2 separate regions of the Homo sapiens genome follow, and region 2 is linked to region 1. The links are contacts of gene promoters, found by promoter capture Hi-C in blood cells and fetal thymus (Javierre and others, 2016). All regions are on one chromosome and are shown on one strand. Each heading gives the region's core, a stretch centred on a gene start or on the middle of the fragment in contact. The rest is flanking DNA. Distances are from core to core; before and after follow the strand shown. Region 1 holds the start of EPHX4 (epoxide hydrolase 4). Region 2 overlaps EVI5 (ecotropic viral integration site 5).

The links. Contacts are between HindIII fragments. The CHiCAGO score rates a contact against its expected background, and 5 or more counts as called.
Region 2: a fragment that was not itself captured here is called in contact with the fragment with the promoter of EPHX4 in region 1 in 5 of 17 cell types (total CD4 T cells, naive CD8 T cells, activated CD4 T cells and 2 more); the score reaches 7.5 in total CD4 T cells.

The regions. Positions count from the first base shown.
Region 1 is chr1:92,026,938-92,031,453 of GRCh38, forward strand. EPHX4 (epoxide hydrolase 4) reads left to right here and starts at 3,048. Exons shown (of 7, transcript NM_173567.5): 1 at 3,048-3,373. The coding sequence starts at 3,143. It overlaps LOC124904218 (a long non-coding RNA gene), which reads right to left and starts at 3,450. Exons shown (of 2, transcript XR_007066222.1): 1 at 2,428-3,450; 2 at 1-267. RefSeq lists an enhancer at 2,747-3,248. The HindIII fragment of the contact is 12,008 bases long and covers 1-4,014 here.
Region 2 is chr1:92,637,287-92,641,647 of GRCh38, forward strand. All of the region lies in intron 13 of EVI5 (ecotropic viral integration site 5), which reads right to left. Among named protein-coding and RNA genes, the nearest start is that of EVI5, 150 kb to the right of the region's middle. The HindIII fragment of the contact is 2,003 bases long and covers 275-2,277 here.

The DNA.
Region 1 (4,516 bases), core at 1,798-4,297:
TATATCGCTTTTTAATCTTCATCAGATTTTGGTATTGTGGTCTGTAAATTGAGGAACTTATTTGATGTGAATGAATTTAACAGGAAGTCTGTCATTTAAAAGTTGATACAAGCTGGGTGTGGTGGAATGCATCTGTAATCCCAGCTACTTGGGAGGCTGAGGAAGGATGGTCATTTAAGCCCAGGAGTCCGAGGCTGCAGTGTGCTTAATGACTGCACCTGTGAATAGCCACTGCACTCCATCCTGGGTAACAGCGAGTCCCTGTCTCTTGAAAAAGAAAAAAAAAAAAAGGTAGGACACAAGCAGCCAACATGATCTAGCGGGCAAATGTAGAACACTCTTATCCACACGTTTTTTTTTTTTAAACAACCATGGAACATTCACCAAGATAGACCATATCCCAGATCATAAAACAAATTTAAAAGAATAGAGGTCATGTGGAGTATGTTCTTGGGCCATAATAGAATCAGATACAAGTCAATAATGGACTGCCAAGCACAGTACCTCATGCTTGTAGTCTCAGCACTTTGGGAGGCTAAAGTGAGAGGATTGCTTGAGGCCAGGAGTTCAAGACCAGCCTGATCAACATAGCAAGATCTCTATCTCTTAAAAATTTAATGTGTTATGAGTTAAGAGTTTGGAGGACTGAAAGTAATAATAGAAAAATTGCTAAACACATTAAAAACACAATGGGGCAAGGAGGAAGACAGGAATCTTTGTTTTTTTTTATTTATTTATTTTTTGAGACGGAGTCTCCCTTTGTCACCCAGGCTGAAGTGCAGTGGTGCAATCTCAGCTCCCTGCAATCTCTGCCTCCCGGGTTCAAGCAATTCTCATGCCTCAGCTTCCCAAGTAGTTTGGACTACAGGCGTGCACTACTATGCCTGGCTAATTTTTTTGTATTTTTAGTAGAGATGGGGTTTCAACATGTTGGCCAGGCTGGTCCAAAACTCCTGACCTCAGGTGATCTGACCAGCTCAGCCTCCCAAAGTGCTGGGATTACAGATGTGAGCCACCACCCCCGGCCCTGTTTTTTGTTTTGTTTTGTTTTGTTTTTCATTTTTTGAAACATAATCTCACTCTTTAACCCAGGCTAGAGTGCAGTGGCATGATTTTGGCTCACTGCAGCCTCAACCTTCCAGGGCTAAGGCGATCCTGCCACTTCAGCCTCCCAAGTAGCTGGGACTACAGGCGTGCACCACCACACCTGGCTAATTTCTCTATTTTTTGTAGAGACAGGGTTTTGCCATGTTGCCCACGCTGGTCTTGAATTGCTGAGCTCAAGCGATCCTCCTGCCTCAGCCTCCCAAAGTGCTGGGATTATAGGCGTAAGCCACAGCACCCAACCTAAAACAGGACATTTTAAAAAATACATAACAAATGGCAAAATACAACATATCAACACATATGTAATACGATTAAAGAGTACTGAGAGATGCCAGGCGCGGTGGCTCACACTTGTAATCCCAGCACTTAGGGAGGCTGAGGCGGGCGGTTCACGAGCTAACCTGGCTAACACGGTGAAACCCCGTCTCTACCAAAAATACAAAAAACTTAGCCGGGCATGGTGGCGGGCGCCTGTAGTCCCAGCTACTCAGGAGGCTGAGGCAGGAAAATGGCGTGAACCCGGGAGGCGGAGCTTGCAGTGAGCTGAGATGGAGATCGCGCCATTGCACTCCAGTCTAGGCGACAGAGTGAGACTCCGTCTCAAAAAATAAAATAAAAAGAGTACTGAGAGAAATGTATAGGTGCTAAATGATTGCATTAGAAATTGCAAAGGTCTCAATAAGTTCCTAACTCAAGACCCTAGAAAAAAAGAGCAAAATACAGTTAACCCTCAAACAACATGTGTTTGAACTGTGTAGGTCCACTTACACATGGATTTTCTTCCACCTCTTCCCTCCCCCTCACCCCAAGACAGGAAGATCAACCTCCCTTCTTCTTTCTCCTCCTCAGCTTACCTAACCTGATGATGACAAGGATGAACACTCTTAAGATAATCCACTTCCACTTAATGAATAGTAAATGTATTTTCTCTTCCTTATGATTTTAACATTTTTCTTAATTATAAAGATACAGTATGTAATACATAAACATATGTTAATTGTTTTGGTCAGTAGTAGGCTATTAGTACTTAAGTTTGGGGGAACTCAAAAGTTATACATGGATTTTCAGATGTGAAAGGGTTCAGCAACCCTAACCCCCCGCATTGTTCAAAGGTCAATTGTATAACTCACACATGCTGAAGTAAATTCAAAATTGTACAGCCACTTTGGAAACCAGTTTGACAGTTTCTCATAAAAAATGAACACTTAATACCTGACCCGGTGATTGGGAAAAGGCTTAATGAAATTCTAACAGTGAACTGGACGATAGAAGAGGTCAGGACAAGAGTGGCCATGTCGGTGCTGAGGCTGAGATACCTACCGAGGACTGTCACTCTCACGGCTTCCAGCCCTTCGACGAACTCTCAGGTGTGTGGCCTTCTGGCCAGGCTTCTGCCGCGTCACGTTGTTGAAGCATTCGTTGTATCCCTGGGGTTGCAGCTCTCTGTAAGTTTGCTGTGGCTGAACCAGGCAAGGCATAGGCGGATTTCTACAGAAATTATGATTCCACGAAAGATTTTGAGAAGAGGAAGGCTGGTATCTTTCAGAGTGCAGAGTGATTTTGCACTCTAAAGAATCTCTTTGGGTGTAATAGCATGGAAGTTTGTCGCTGACCTGTGTCCCTGAACTATGACACACGAATATGTGGGCTTAGAAATAGTTTTGCTTGATACATTGAGAACAACAAAGAAGACTGAGTGGCGCTACCTTCTTTGGTGCCCAGGATGGTTTGGGAAAGTCTCGCCTTCATCCTCCCCCACAGTTTTGCGATTTTGAAACGGGATCTCGCTCTCCGCGGAAGACAGCCAAGCTCTGCACCCCGGCCTGGCCCGCCGCACCCCGCAGGCCCGGCTCTCCCCTGCGCGCTCCGGGCTGGGCGCGGCGCGTGTGCGGAGCCGCCGCGGTGACACGGAACGCCGGCCGCCCCGGGCCGGGGGAGGCGCGCGTCGAGAGGCGACGGCGGGCTGGCCTGGCGCGCTGCGGCGCTCGCTCACCCGCTCCCGAGGAAGGGCAGTGGGCCCCGCCGCCGCCTCCCAATGGCGAGGCTGCGGGATTGCCTGCCCCGCCTGATGCTCACGCTCCGGTCCCTGCTCTTCTGGTCCCTGGTCTACTGCTACTGCGGGCTCTGCGCCTCCATCCACCTGCTCAAACTTTTGTGGAGCCTCGGCAAGGGGCCGGCGCAGACCTTCCGGCGGCCCGCCCGGGAGCACCCTCCCGCGTGCCTGAGCGACCCCTCCTTGGGCACCCACTGCTACGTGCGGATCAAGGTGAAGGGCCGCGCGGGCCTGGCGGGAGCGGGAGGGAGCGTGACCGCCGCGAGGGTGGGGGGCTCCGGGCTTCTCCTTCCGAGACGCTGGCTCAGCGTCCCCTAGTGTCCTGGCAGGAGGGGAGGAGGGGTTGGGTCCCTGTGTGTCGTGTGTGTGTGTGTGTGTGTGTGTGTGTGAGAGAGAGAGAGAGAGAGAGAGATACAGATAAACAGCACTCGGTCTTTGCAGGCACCTTGATTGGTTTCTGAATGTGGAACTTCTCTAATCAGGGGCCTCTTATATTACTGCCCCCCGGCGCCACAACAACCCAGAATAAACCTGCTCTTTTTCCTACTGCAAGGGGAAGCTGTCTCCTGTCACCCTTTTGCCCTTTAGAGCTCAGATCAGCTGTAGAGAATTGTTCCTCGTGGCATCCTAATGTCTCAGGAGGCTGTTCTTGCCCAATTTTAGAGATAATAAGAGTAAACAGTCAGTCTTTGGGAGTCATGAGTTTATTATGATCACAGACGACTTAGGTTGCATGAAACAATAAGTAAATTGTGTGTGTTGTGGGGAGGAATGCATACTTATGAAGTCAGGGACCAAAGAAAGGAATGGAATAAAAGGTAAATCCAGCCATGCCTGCAGACGCTAATTGTTCAAGCTTCCTCACAGCCCACAAATATTCTGTTTCCTGAGGCTCCAGGTGGTGAAGGGAAATAGTTCCCGTGATACACCCTGCAGTCTGACTCACAGGCCTTTCAAACCCAGCCTCATAAGAGGGGATGTTTATGTCACCAAGTCCTTATTTCCTGTTAGGAGCTAAATTGCCCCGCAGCTGAAGTTCAGAAGGGCAAGAGAACTTCTTTCTTGCCTGGGGTCGACATGAGAATTAAATAGGTTAATATTTATAAAAACAAACACGAAAAACTTAGAACAATGCCTGATGCATAGTCAGTGCAATAAAGTATCTGTTAATTAAATCCATTGCAGTGCCCATAACATTTAATCCTCCAAGACTCACCACCAATAAAAAAAGTTATTGAACCTCTAGGAAGCCATCGTGCAGCTGAGGGTAAAGTCAGATTTGTTATCTCTGTTCAACCTGAGGGGTAAAAGTAGTATAAGAACCATCTGGAATTCCATAAAACACTTTTCCCCTCG
Region 2 (4,361 bases), core at 26-2,525, 610 kb after region 1:
AGAATGGCTTGAGCCCGGGAGGTGGAGGTTGCAGTAAGCCAAGATCATGCCACTGTACTCCAGCCCAGGTGACAGAGCAAGACTCTTGTCTCAAGAAAAAAAAAAAAAAAAGATATACATAGAAATAATTGCTGGAAGTAGAGAAGACGCAGATGCTGCACAAAGAAATTAACCACGGAAGCACGCAACTTTCCCATTTGCTTTCCTACTCTATAAAACATGAATATTGATGCAAACACTTAAGTCGTCATTTTTAAGCCAGTGCCCATAGAAAAGCTTCTGTACAAAAGCAATATGTAATTCATCATTATAAAATACTTTCTAAAATAAATTGTCTATCACTTCACATTTAATTTATGTAGTAAAGAAAATGTGGCAACTCAAAATTTCAAAATAAAGTCATAAAAAACAATCTTCTACTGAACTAGCATGAATAAAGCACAGTTATTTTTACTCTTTAATATGTTAGGAACAAAACAGATGTCAAATCAAAACTATTAAAAATAACCAGATGCTTAATACATGGTACTCTCCTGCCCCAGTTACCAAAAAAAGATGTGCAAATGAGGACTTTAATTCAATGCATTATACATTATTTCTTCTAGTAATTTTGATACTATTGAAACAATATTTCAATACGAGAAGTGCATCTGCAACAGACACATCATCTTAGCAAATACTTACCTTTTATCAATTAGGAAAAAGGCATTCTTTTGGAATGACCACATCCAAACTAGATGTGCCATAATTTATTTAATTAGATCACAGTTATTTCGTGGGTACTGGAAGAATTTTTTTGCCCTCAACTTAAAGCCCTGGCAACTGTAGCACAGGTTTGTTTGCAAAGACTTTATATTAGAAGATCCCCAAGAAAACATCAAACTCAAAGGCCCATATGAGAATGGAATTCTTGATTGGCATAAACCAACTAATCCAATCAAGTACAAAAAGCTATAGTAATGTTGGGCACAAATCTTTATTAATAAAATTTACAGAGAGCTGAAATGCTCTGATAACAAGTCATTCTGGATAATATATATCTTATGCTTTTTATACTCTAAAACATATTATTTTAGTCTTCTGGATTAAAATAACTCTAAACGTATTATGTAAATTTTTTTGCCACTGACAGAGTTTACAGAATATAATTCCCAGGTCATCATGATGGTGGCCAATTAACATACTGCAAATTACACAGTGTCTAAGGAAAAGATGCTGCTGTGAACTATAAATTACCTGAAGCTAACCACTGTAGTTTCAATTTATTCTATTTTCCACAGGGGGAAAACAGTTTTATAAACATGTTTTAATGTTTGACAGAAATGACAATTATGACAGCAGCTAACATCTACTCACCACTTACTATGTGCCAGACACATGTTAAGCACTTTATATTCTCCTTTAACCTTCACCACAATTACTGTCTTACTAATAAGGAAACTAATAGGGTACACCAAGGTCAAACAGCAGTTGATAGTGCTATTAATTGACAGTTTGTATTACAGAGCCCATGTTCCTCACCTTTAAGCCATATAGGTGTTGAAGAGTTTAATATATTGTTTTAATATATACTGTTCTAAAAATTAATTATATAATATTAAAAAAATCCAAACCTCTAAAAAAAATCTAAGCATATAGATCTCACATAATGTTCTTGTATTAAGAAATTCCTAGAAGAGTGCATTTCATATTCAAGTGAGTAACTTGGACAGACACACAATTTGTTTTACCAAATGACAACTGCCACAATTATGATGGCTGGCAGTCTCAGCAAGGGGAGCCGTTTATTTAAAAGCATAGAAATGACAGATGACTTCTCTATACTTACATCAAGTTAATTTATGTAAATGAATCTCATAATGTTTCTGTGATACCAGCAATCCCATTCCAATGAAACTGACAGAAATTCTTTTTAGTAAGCAGAGTCTGCTTTTCAATCCTATGTGCTTTTCTGGTGTTGCAAAAATTACAAAGGTAAAGGTAAGTTAGAAAGTCCTCAGTAATCCTTTTTGCTTGTGTCTTGAGCTTAAAAAAAAATCTTCAATATTTGAAGGAAATAGGAGTAATACAGTAAAAAGTAAATATTTGTATTGGGGGAAGTTTCTCATATTATTAAAAAAAATTTCAATATTTGAAGGAAATAGGAGTAATACAGTAAAAAGTAAATATTTGTATTGGGGGAAGTTTCTCATATTATTAAGTGAAAAAAAATTGAAATTAGAAAAAGGGTTGTCCATGCAAATGTATCCAATATTGCTTGAATTTAAGTATACATTAAGCTTTTAACTAAGTTCAAGATATGACATTTATATGCTCTTTTCAGGAACCCAAACATTTCATGGAACCCTGTTCTCATCTCTTTTGTAACACTTATCACAACTCTAAATAAAAAATTGTGCATGCTGCCCAAAGTAATTATAGATTCAATGCTATTCCCATCAAACTACCATTGACATTCTTCACAGAATTAGAAAAAAACTACTTTAAATTTCATATGGAACCAAAGAAGAGCCTGTATAGCCAAGACAATCCTAAGCAAAAAGAACAAAGCTGGAGGCATCACGCTACCTGACTTCAAACTATACTACAAGGCTACAGTAACCCAACAGCATGGTACTGGTACCAAAAAGACATATAAACCAATGGAACAAAACAGAGACCTGAGAAATAACACCGTACTTCTACAACCATCTGATCTTCAACAAACCCGACAAAAGCAATGGGGAAAGGATCTCCTATTCAATAAATGGTGCTTGGAAAACTGGCTAGCCATATGCAGCAAACTGAAACCGGATCCCTTCCTCACATGTTATACAAAAATTTACTCAAGATGGATTGAAGACTTAAATGTAAAACCCCAAACCATAAAAACCCTAGAAGAAAACCTAGGCAATACCATTCAGGACATAGGCATGGGCAAAGACTTCATGTCTAAAACACCAAAAGCAATTGTAACAAAAGCCAAAACTGACAAATGGGATCTAATTAAAGAGCTTCTGCACAGCAAAAGAAACTATCATCAGAGTGAACAGTCAACCTACAGAACAGGAGAAAATTTTTGCAATCTACCCATCTGACAAAGGTCTAAAATTCAGAATCTATGGGGAACCTAAACAAATTTACAAGAGAAAAACAACCCCATCAAAAAGTGGGCAAAGGATATGAATAGACACTTCTCAAAAGATGACATTTACACGGCCAAAAAACATCAAAAAAAAGCTCAACATCACTGATCATTAGAGAAATGCAAATCAAACCCACAATGAGATACCATCTCATGCCAATCAGAATGGCAATTATTAAAAAGCCAAGAAACAACAGATGCTGGTGAGGCTGCGGACAGATAGGAATGCTTTTATAGTGTTCATGGTAATGTAAATTAGTTCAACCAACACGGTTCTAGAACCAGAAATACCATTTGACCCAGCAATACCATTACCAGGCATATACCCAAAAGAATACAAATCATTCTACTATAAAGACACATACATACATATGTTTACCGCAGCACTGTTTACAATAGCGAAGAGTTGGAACCAACCCAAATGCCCATCAATGATAGACTAGATTAAGAAAATGTGGTACATAAACACCATGGAATACTATGCAGCCATAAAAAGGAATGAGATCATGTCTTTTGCAGGGACATAGAAGCCATCATCCTCAGCAAACTGACACAGGAACAGAATACCAAACACCGTATGTTCTCACTCTTAAGTGGGAGCTGAGCAATGAGAACACATGGACACAGGGGAGAGAACAACACACACCAGGGCCTGTTGGGGGTTGAGGGAGAAGAGGGAACTTAGAGGATGAGTCAATATGTGCAGCAAGCCACCATGGCACACATATACCTATGTAACAAACCTGCACATTCTGCACATGTATCCCAGAACTTAAAAGTAAAATTGAAAAAAAAAATTGTGTGATTAATTTTTAAAATGTTTATCTCTATATATACTATACAAGCAAATGCTGGAGACAGTTTGACTGACTTACCATTATAAATCAATAACTGCCTGGTTAACAGAACCAAACAGTGCTTTTCATAGGTAGGTTAGCAAAATATTAACTGCTGAATCAATCAGTTAACTCCTGGTTTAACAACAAAATCCCTGTATTATATAATTTACATTAAACATAGGAAGTGGAAGTTGAATGCTGCAAAAAAAAATCTATAAAACTGATGGTTAATCTATTTTTAATTGAAATGCCTATGTAGCAATCTTGAACCACTTTCCCAAAACAAAATAATGATACAATGTTTCCATTTGTTCCAGAAACAAAATTTGTAATAATGTGGGAAGATGGCACATTTGGACCGCCATATCCAAAAGCATCTGAAAAAAGTTATACAAGGC